3 separate regions of the Homo sapiens genome follow, and all the other regions are linked to region 3. The links are contacts of gene promoters, found by promoter capture Hi-C in human tissues and cell types (Jung and others, 2019). All regions are on one chromosome and are shown on one strand. Each heading gives the region's core, a stretch centred on a gene start or on the middle of the fragment in contact. The rest is flanking DNA. Distances are from core to core; before and after follow the strand shown.

Region 1 (3,342 bases), core at 232-2,731, 610 kb before region 3:
CCAAGTGGGAACGTGGCTGACGACCAGGCGGGGCCCCCAGGCCCCCGCGGCAGAGTCTGGGGACCCGACAGTAGTCACCGCCGCCCTTCCCAACAAGACAGGGCCACACGCTCGCTCTCGCGCTGCTCCTTTGAGCTATTGTGTAGAATGAAGGCTAATTACAGTCACTAGCCTAGGACTCAATTCCTCTCGAGGAAACGTCACCGGGAAGGAGGGTCAGCAAACTAACCTGATTAAGTCTCCCCTCCACTCCCCCTCCGCGTTCAGCTACACGGGAGACCCGAGCGGTTTCCAAACGCCGCCCGAGGCGGGGAAAAGGGAGAGGAGAAGCGCCCAGAGCAGAGTCCTGCGTAAAGCCCCGCCGCTCCCCTACCCCGCACGCCGGAGAGGCGGCCCCGCGCCGGGGGAGTCGCAGTCCGGGTGCCCTCGGCTCCGCGGAGCCTCCCGGCCGCCGCCCACCGAACGTGCGCCAGCTCGCGGCCGCCGGAAGACTCTGAAGCCCGGCCGGCCCCTGGCGCTCCGCGTCCCCGGAGGCGCTCACCTTCTCCCCCCGTCCGCTCCCGCACTCCCCGGGGTTCGAGGGTGCGCCCGAGGCTGCCGCACACGTCTTGGCCCTCTGCCTCCTTCCCAACACTGCGCCTGGCAGAGGAGGCAGAACCATTGTTCAATGCTCAGAAGCCCACGCACCTCGGCGCCCGTCAAGAGGGCGAGAAACGAGGCGAAGCAGCGGCTCTGGGGGAGGCGGAGTGAGGGGCAGAAGACTAGTTCAGGCGAGGCGTCGGGGCACCCCGAACCCCGCTGTTCCCCAAGCCCGGCTCCCTTTAGCCTCGGCGCTGACAGCTCAGAGGCGCCACCACGGAGGGGAGGGAGGGAAGGCGAGGAGAACCGAGAGGCGCCTCCTAGGAGGCGGGTGGGCAAACGGAGACCTACGCCTCGGGGTCTCCCGGTGCCCCGGCTGGGTCCCGCCCGCCGGCGGAGGGGCGCGTCCTCACTCACCGGTTCCGGTGGCGCCGCTCTCCCGGGGCGCCCAGCACAGCGCGAGCAGCAGCCAGAGCGCCCAGAGCGCGGACGTGCCCATGGTGCCCGCCTGGATGGTGCCGCCGCCGCCGCCGCCGCCGCCGTTCGCTCCGCACGACAAGTTACCAGTCCTTCCGAAAGGAGGAAGAAGGTGGGGGCGGGGAGGGGAAAGGGGGAGAAGGAGGGGAAGGAGTTGGCGGGGGAAGGGAGCGGGGAAGAAGAGGGCACCCCCTCCCCTACAACTTGCACAGTCTCCTCCCCACCCACCCAGCCACCTCCCCGGGCTGCAGCAGCAGTGCAAGCCGAGCCTGCGGGCAGAAAATAATGCAGGCGCTGCAGAGGAGGGGAGGCAAGGGGAGAGGAGGGAAGGGAGAGGGGGTGGGGAGCCGAGAGCAGAAGAGAGCACAGAACGGAGAGGAGCCGGTAGCGGAGCACCCGCACCGGCGGCGGCCGGAGAGCGGGGTGAGCAGCGGGGAGGGGGCCGGAGGGGGCGTGGTCAACGGGAGGCGCGGCGGGCGGGCGGGAGCGCGGCGGCTTCGGCCCTCCTTTCCCTCGACGCGCTCCTCTTGCACGCGCCGGGCAGCCGGGTGCCCGCGCGGGGAGCGTGCGAGTGTGAGCGTGCGTGAGTGACCGCGGTCGTGGTCGTGGCTGCCGCCGCCGCCACCCGGACCGCTCTAGGGGCCCGGCTGCTCCGCGCGTTCGCCTGGGGCTCACGGGGGCCCGGGGCGACCGCTGGTTGGCTCGCGCGCCGCCCTCGCCTCCAATCCCGGGTGCCTGTCCTAATTTCCTGATCCAGGGAACCTGCCGCCGCAGCGGCTGTGCGCTCCCTACAGTCATTACTGTACCCTCCCGGCAGCCTCCGGCAGAACACGCAGCAGCAGCAGCAGTTAGCGCTGATGCAACTATCGTTGCTGTTGCCACCGCCTCCCCACTGACGGGGCGTGCACCTGGGGGGTACTTGCAGTTTCCAGGGGCAACAAGCATCTCTCTACCACCCTCTCCTGCGCCCCTGAGAGAGGCTGGTAGGTAGCATCTTCTTCGGGCCTCCTCTATCCACTCAGAAAGTGATGAAGCGGAGGGGCTCCAAACGTTTGGGCTGCTCAAAAGTGGGGTTTGGGATGCCGGTCTCAATCGCACGCTGAGATGCCGTTTTGCCGAAAACTAAATGTGTCTTTAAGTGAGAGAGTGTGTATGTTTGAAAGAGAGTGCGCGCGGTTGTGGCTGGTCCTCTGTAATAGAACAAGACTGAAATAACCCAGCCTGGGATGAGGAGAAGGGAAATTGCTAGCGCAGCTTTGCATTTGCTCATCAACGATTATAGTTAATTGCTAATTGCACAAAATGATAGTTTGAGGGCCTGTAATTAAAAGCTTAACCTTTTCTTGTTTGGAAGAGAGGGGCCCCATACGTTTATTCCTCTTGATATACTTTGTAACATTCAATTACAAGAATCGAGGAAAGAATAAAGGAAGCAAAGACAAGACTCCTAGAAAGGGTTGGTTCTTCTTTTGTGCCTGACAGTACCTGAGTCTATAATTTGCTTTTTGTGTACTTCAGTTTTCTTGCACACTTAGCCCTGGTTGAGGTGCATTGTCTGCTGTGGTCTGTTGAGCATCTAACCAGAGTGGGAGGGCACATCGAGCGATTTCACTTTCTTAAATAAAAGGTTTTTGGTATTTTGAAAAAGTTGTTTTTATCTTAATTCAAACTTGGAAGGTTTCAATAATATCATATTCTGACTCTATTCTGTTGGTGATCTGAAGAGCAGCGGGCACTGCCTCACTGTCTTCTCCTTGCCCTGGTTCTCCTGGAAATTTGTCAAGGCTAGCAATCAGAGGAGATGTTTATTAGGAACTTACTATATCCAGGAGACACACAGGAGAGGAAAATTCCAGTCAGGATAGGTTTCTGTGGGCCAAAGATATCCTGATTGTGACTGCTAAGCATGAAAGGGCTTAACTCTACGTATGGATGGTATCTTGCACTATAGCTCATTTTGAATGCTATTTTGCCCACCCTGTGGTTACATAGTTGATACAAACTGCAGCAGCCACACAGGTTGCATGTGAAACAACTGAAATTTGTTTGTATGACATTTAGTAGTGAAGATGCATGCCGGTGTTATTCACCTAATGGCATTGAGATGTGATAGGAAAACCTTAGTGCATGATGTCTTTCATATTCTCAGGGTTCTGAAATGCCATCTGATGAGCTACTGCTTTACAGAAGAGGAAAGGAGTAGAAGGGATGGGTGGAATCAATACAAAAAGAGGCAGCATTAATAAACAGTCATATGACTTGTTTTTAATACTTTACTCAGAGATA
Region 2 (3,352 bases), core at 674-3,173, 630 kb before region 3:
ACTCGCCAGAGCCGCACTGGATTTCGCTGGCTGGACACTTGGTGTGTATGACTGGCTGACGGCCACACTGCTCCAGGGACTCATCAGATTGGTCGGAGCAGTCTGCATCATCGTCGCATACCCAGCTGATGGGGATGCAGGAGGAGGTGCTGCACTGGAACTCATGGGCGCCACAGGTTGGCGGGGCACAGTCCAGCTCATCACTGCCATCGCTGCAGTCATCCTGGCCATTGCATACAAAGTTCCTGGAGATGCAGCGGCCACTGGAGCAGGTGAACTCGTCGGGACTACATGTTATATTGCCTATTAAGAGAGAGGATGCCCCACTGAAAATGCATCAAGATTGGTCCGTTCAAGATTCTTGTCCCAAAATCTAATACATTGATCTTTATTCATTAATCCTAACTTACTAGCCCAACTTAAAGGCTACAATGGAGTTAAATCAAGAACTTTTGTACAGTCTCATTGTACAAAAAATGAAGGCACACAATAAATAAGAAGAACAGAAATAAAGAACCAAGAAAATAGTTGAAGACTGGAAATTAATTTGAGATGAGAACCACAATTGATTCTAAAAGTGGCCATCATAAATAACAAACTGTAACAAGGGATTTCAATTTGGAAGGCAGAGATTGAGTTGTCCTTGAATCAACATACTGCTTGTCAGATCTTATCACTAGTTGAGAATATCATGCAACGTAATACTCACAACAAGCATTAAGACTTTGTCACCAAAAGAGGTGAACCACATACCACCATATATGGTTCCTCTTTTTGGTCCTTTAAATAAGGATCAGGAATAACAAGTCTTAAACACTTTCCATTTTGAAAAAGTCACTGCCAGGGCTATAATCACCATTTAACAATCAGGTATGCTGACAATGATAAGCTAGTCCTACTAGCCAATTGGTACTTTGACTTAAATTCCTGCCAAATGTTTCAAGGTCACAATTTGGTGGCAATTAGAATAGAGACCACGACTCTCTTGGGAAGCAAAGTCTAGATTTATAAGGGAAACACTTGGCAGCACCAGGGCTTACCAATACAGAAAACCCAATTCTAGGATTGAACACTAAAACTCATTGGACTAGGTGCAGTGGTATTGACCTCAGGAGGCGACTTCTACACACAAGACTGGTGTTTCAACTGTAAGTGCCCTGAGCTCCCTTGACTACTACCATATCAGGAGGCCCATGCTTGTCAGACTTGGGAGCTGTAGGTTTTAGAGGCCCTATAAAAAGGGCAGTAGCTTGAAAGAACATTCAAAGCACTGTTTGTTCAACCTAGTGATTTTCCCAGGCCCTCACCTTCAACATGCAGCATTTTATTAAAGATTTTCCAAGACCAGAAACATGAAAGAATAGGAAGCAGAGTTAGCTTTCAGAGACAGGAACTGCAACAGGAGACAAAGGTATCACCAGTTGGGTAGACTTTTCTTTGGGTATCTGAGGCAAGATGTTAATTCATGCTTCTGTGTCTTTTTTTTTTTTTTTTCTGGGAAAGTTATGCCAGAATCTAGTTCATGGGCAAAGAAATGCTTGTATAATACTCAAATAATTTATTCCAATAACCCAATCAAATTTAGACCTATGAATGTGTTTGCCAACCCTACTCACCTTCTAATTTTATTGTGCCAAAGTGCAAAAGACACATGAATTACTGTCAAAACAAAAGCCCACACAATTGCTGCTTCCCTGAGCTACTTCTATATATAAGTGCCTTGAATGACTTACCTTCTTATTTCTATTTGCCTAAAAGAAACACCAAGCGATGGTCAATTGCCACATGAATGTCTTTTAGGGTTTTAGGGCAGTTATGAAGGACAAGTAATTGAGCAGATAGTGAAGTCACTGAAAAGTGAGTCAATGTCAGTGCGTCTTCAGGCTTAGATTAGTTTCCCCTGCCCACCCTTCCTTTAGGAAAAGGGTCTTTGGGTTACGTCACTCAACACTGATCTTCTTACCACAGTTTTCTTCATCTTCTCCACTGTCACAATCATTTTCACCATCACATCTCCAGGACACTGGGATACACTGAGTAGAATGGGCGCCACAGCTGATTTCATGTATGCGGCATGTTCTCATATCTGTTGATGATATACAGTCTCAAAAGAGCCTCAGAACTGATCAATGCAAAGCTGCTGCTCCTGTGCTGCCTGGAAGCGCTAATACCTGTGACTCAGTAGCCTGGCACACTGGTGAAATTCTACTAACTGGCTGAAGCCCGGGGAGCTCTTTCATCAGCTCCACTCCTTAGAAGCTGTGCCAACCTATGCTACCTGGCAGTGTACGTGACAGCTTTGACCACGTCACTCCTTCAAGGTCCCATGGCGTGCTCAGTTCTGGCTTTTGTTTTACTTGGCGTGGTGAAGTTTATTGGCTGGCCTGCTCCTAGACCACTATTTATCTGTTGGATGTCAAGTGGGCACACCTAGATATTGTCATCTAATCTCAAATACATGAAAAGTCAGATGGTCAAACACCTACAAAATCTTCTATTGCCTAGATTCCTTTATGGGCCTCCTTCACAATGTCCTTTAGATTGACATCTTGCAAAGTAGAAGCATGCCCTAATGCTTGACTTGACCAGGTCATTCTCCACTAAAAGTTGAGGCTGAATCTTTACACAACCTGTCTTTAGCTCACAGGCCTTGAACTCACTTGCCTTGACCAATATTACTCCCCTCACTTCTTATCTAGAAAATTGAAAGTAACAGCCTTATCTTCCTTTCTATTTGATTTTCTTTCATAATCACACTTTAGACCTAAACTGTGTTCATGTTAGTCCTTTTTTAGTGTTTCTACCAGTGCAGGCCTCTACTGACTCAAACTCTAAGACTTTCTTTGCCTTGACATTCGTGTGATCTCAATTTATATGATCCCAAACCATCATTCTTTATGGTCTCATAGACTTTTTCCTAAGGACACAGGTATATACTTGCATACCTATGAAGTTTCTCTTATTTAAGAATATGCTGTAAGATCTCCATTTTAGTAACTTGAGGTTACATGTGTGTCAGGAGTCACTATATCACCCAATTACTAGCTACCTTACCTCTTCAGTAATAGCTTTTTAATAGTATGATAAGCTGTGCTTCTAAAAGCTTTTGCTTGGCCCATAGGGAACCCTCACTTCTTGACTTAGCTTCCAGGACCAGAGTACCATCTGCTCAGTTATTATAAACAGACATTTGAAATCTATGCACCTAGTCAAGGAGTTCTTGATTGAATCTGCTGACTTCAGTTTTAAGTATTCAATAGTGAAGCTACCCAAGAGAATGTCAGTCTTGTTGGACCAGGGAGAACATTCTTTAAAGGAGGCTGATAAACTGGTAATGATTTGACTGCCCTTG
Region 3 (2,926 bases), core at 377-2,876:
AGCACTGTGCTCCGTGTGCGCCCTGCGGCCGGAGGGCGCCGAGGGGCTGGCGCGCCGGACCGGTTATTTAGGGAAGTGCATCGCGACACCTTTGCAGATGGCATGGCCGTGTTTTGCAACGCAAACGGGAGGAAGGGAAGACGGCCGGGTGGAGGGGGAGAGCAAAGGAAGGGGTAAACCAGGTTGGGATGGGAATAAAGCAAACTCCTGAGCAGGGAGCGAGAAGGAAGGAGTGCGTGTCATCGTTGGGAGGAGGCTCCTACCCGGTCTCCCCGCCTCCCGCCCTCGCCACCCCCCTATTCCCTCCCCACCGCAGCCCTTCCCCTTCCCGGGCGAACCACACCGCCGCTGCCCGGTGGTGCGCGGGTCCTGTTTGTGACAGTCAGGCAGACAGGATTATCCGGATCATGGCCTCCCGGGCCCGCAGCCGCCGCCGTGGCTCTCCTGGGTCCCGGCGCGCCCCTAGCACCCGGACGATCGCAGGCGCCCCACGCCCGCAGCTCCCGCGGCGCAAGCAAGGGGAAGACGCGAAGCAAAAGAACACGGACCCGGGGAGAGGGAGGGCAGGGTAACGGAGGCTGGCGGGCACCTCCGACCTCCTTGGGGGCCTCCTCCCTTCCCTCCAGCAGTGCGGCCCGGGCCGGACATCCCGAACTTTAACACCCGAGCCTGCGCTGCCGCCAGGTACCAGAGGCAGGGACGTCCGCAGCGCCCGGGGCGCAGCCCCCTGGCAGCCCCTTTGCCTAAAGGCCTGCCTACCAATCAGCCTCCCCATCCACGCCGGAGGAAACGCGGAAAGTGGAGGTGACACCTCCGATCAGGCACGCACCGGCCCCGCGGCAGTGGCCGCTACCTCCTTCGCGCGTCAGCTCAGGCTTCTCCCGCTGCGATCCGCTCACGTCTCCGCAGCCGGAGCCCTTTGAACAAGTCCCTGGGAAGCGGGTGGCAACAGCGTCCGTTGGCGCCCCGCCGCCAGCCTGGGCTCCCCGCCCTCCTTTCCCGTTCCCCTTCCAACTCTTCCGGGGAGGGTTGCCCGGGATGAACAGTAGCGTTTCCATCCTCCTCCCCTGTCCCCCAGGCCTTCCCCCTCCTGCGGCCACCCCCCTCCCCGCCGCCTCACTTTTAAGGGGATGGGGGGATTGCAACCTGGCCCAATGTGTGTGTTGCAACCTTGAGTTGGCAGCGCCTCTGACTGCCCACTCAGGATCAAGGCTGTGGCTTGTTGGGATTTTTTTCCTCCTTTGCCCCCTTGAAGTAGTAATTATTACTGTTATTATTAGAACAGCAAGGTTCGGTTGAAACTTTCTCGTTTCTTCCACCGCCGCCTGGGAGCTGTCGTTAGAGCATTCCACCTGAGGCCCGCGGGGAGGAGGCGGGCTTTTTTTTGTCGCGGCGGTTGGCCCGCCTGTTTGTTTTGGTCTCCTTGCATGCACAATAAATAATAATTAGGATAATAATGGATAATCCCGGGCGAAGGCGGCGTGGTGCCGGAGGGGTCTGAGCGGCGGCTGCAGCGGGGCGGCCGAAGGGAGGGGAAAGAGGAGAAAAGAGTTGTAAGTTATATTTACCTTGCTCGCGAGGAGTGTGCTGGCTGAATCTCTTCCCTCTCTGAGTCACCCAGAGTACAGAAACAGAGGGAGAGAGGACTAGATTATGAATATGACTTCATTGATGACAGCCGTCCCCTCCTCTTCCTAAACTCGGGCTCCGCCCAGCGTCCCACCCTCGCCTCCTCCGCGGGCGCCGGAAGACGCGCCGCAGTTGGCCCCGCGCGCCGCTCCTCCCTGCCCGTCCGGGCGCGGGTTGGCGGGACGCGCCTGTCACTCGCTCAGCTCAGCGACTCCGGGAGCGCGGGGGGAGGAGGGGGCGGTGTGCAAGAATGTGGATCTAGACAGCTCTACTGTATGCGTGGATCCGTGTGTGACTGCAAGGCGCCGGCTCTCGGGCCGCGTTTGTGCCTGGAGCAGAGAAACTGCGCGGGATGCAGAAAGCCCCAAGCCCTGCTGGAGCTGGGCGCCCGCTGTCCCTTCCCTGGCAGTCCTCTTCCTCGGGCGCCGCGGGGCTCCTCCAGGGAGACTGCGGAAGGGGAGGAGGCGAAGCGAAAACGGAGGGCAGCCGTAGTAATAGCGCGTAGTAGTTCGGGGGTATGTGGAGAAGGTGCTGGAATTTAACTGTGCCTCCGCCTGCCAGTGCGAGCCTGCAGAGAGAGAGGGAGGGGACGGGGGACGGGCTCCGAGTGGCACCAAAGCTGTTTGTGGCACAGTGTGGACTGTGGAAAAAACGGGCATTGTCGTGCCGGCTGAAACTTTTTCTCCCCCTTCCCTAAGGCTGTCATTATAAATCTGCCCCCTATTCCAGGTAAAAAAATAAAAAATAGAAAAGGGAGGCGGGCACAAAGAACGTTCCTGCCAAATCTGTCTCTTCCCTGAAGGACTGCAAGCTTCCAAATGCCAACGAGGGAGAAACAGCTGAGAGGCTGAACGCCTTATAAATAAGTAAACCCACCCTAACCTCTCTGTTTACTTCGTGGACTAGGTACAGCACTATAACCTTCCCTCACCTGCCATCTTCGCTAAAATATATACAAAAATATGGAAAAACAAACCCTGGGGGCGGGGCTGGCGGGTTAGGGGGCGGCTGAAGCATGGAATCTGGTTTTGATTTAAAAAGGGGAATAAATCTCTTATTTTCTACAGACCGTAGTCTCTTCCCTCTCACCCCGCATTTGAGACCAATTAAGGCTGCAAATTGTAATTTGCTGGCAAGTCGCGGTTTTGAGACCTCTTTGCTCCAATTTTCCTTGAAATACAGTACTTTGGCCGGACCAATAGGTCGGTGTTTGGTGAGACAATTTTATTTTTAGTTTTATGAAGTGTGAAAGAATGTTAGGAGACTTTAAATCAGGGGCCTATTATTTTAGACTCAG

What was found. The method cuts DNA at HindIII sites, captures the fragments that hold promoters and counts their contacts. A contact is called where the count stands out against the background at its distance.
Region 1: the fragment with the promoter of VLDLR here is called in contact with the fragment with the promoter of SMARCA2 in region 3 in 1 of the 25 tissues and cell types used here (hippocampus).
Region 2: a contact is called between a fragment that was not itself captured here and the fragment with the promoter of SMARCA2 in region 3, in 1 of the 25 tissues and cell types used here (dorsolateral prefrontal cortex).

What each region holds. Positions count from the first base shown.
Region 1 is chr9:2,619,926-2,623,267 of GRCh38, reverse strand. It overlaps VLDLR (very low density lipoprotein receptor), which reads right to left and starts at 1,481. Exons shown (of 19, transcript NM_003383.5): 1 at 997-1,481. The coding sequence starts at 1,078. VLDLR-AS1 (VLDLR antisense RNA 1) reads left to right here and starts at 895. Exons shown (of 4, transcript NR_015375.2): 1 at 895-1,168. RefSeq lists silencers at 347-436, 447-536, 807-1,076, 1,687-1,766 and an enhancer at 1,645-1,939. The HindIII fragment of the contact is 11,914 bases long and covers 1-3,342 here.
Region 2 is chr9:2,640,111-2,643,462 of GRCh38, reverse strand. VLDLR (very low density lipoprotein receptor) reads right to left here. Exons shown (of 19, transcript NM_003383.5): 4 at 1,964-2,086; 5 at 1-303. Among named protein-coding and RNA genes, the nearest start is that of VLDLR-AS1, 19 kb to the right of the region's middle. The HindIII fragment of the contact is 4,170 bases long and covers 1-3,352 here.
Region 3 is chr9:2,014,047-2,016,972 of GRCh38, reverse strand. SMARCA2 (SWI/SNF related BAF chromatin remodeling complex subunit ATPase 2) reads right to left here and starts at 1,626. Exons shown (of 34, transcript NM_003070.5): 1 at 1,569-1,626. RefSeq lists silencers at 267-436, 1,577-1,916 and enhancers at 624-1,180, 1,967-2,016, 2,077-2,126. The HindIII fragment of the contact is 11,281 bases long and covers 1-2,926 here.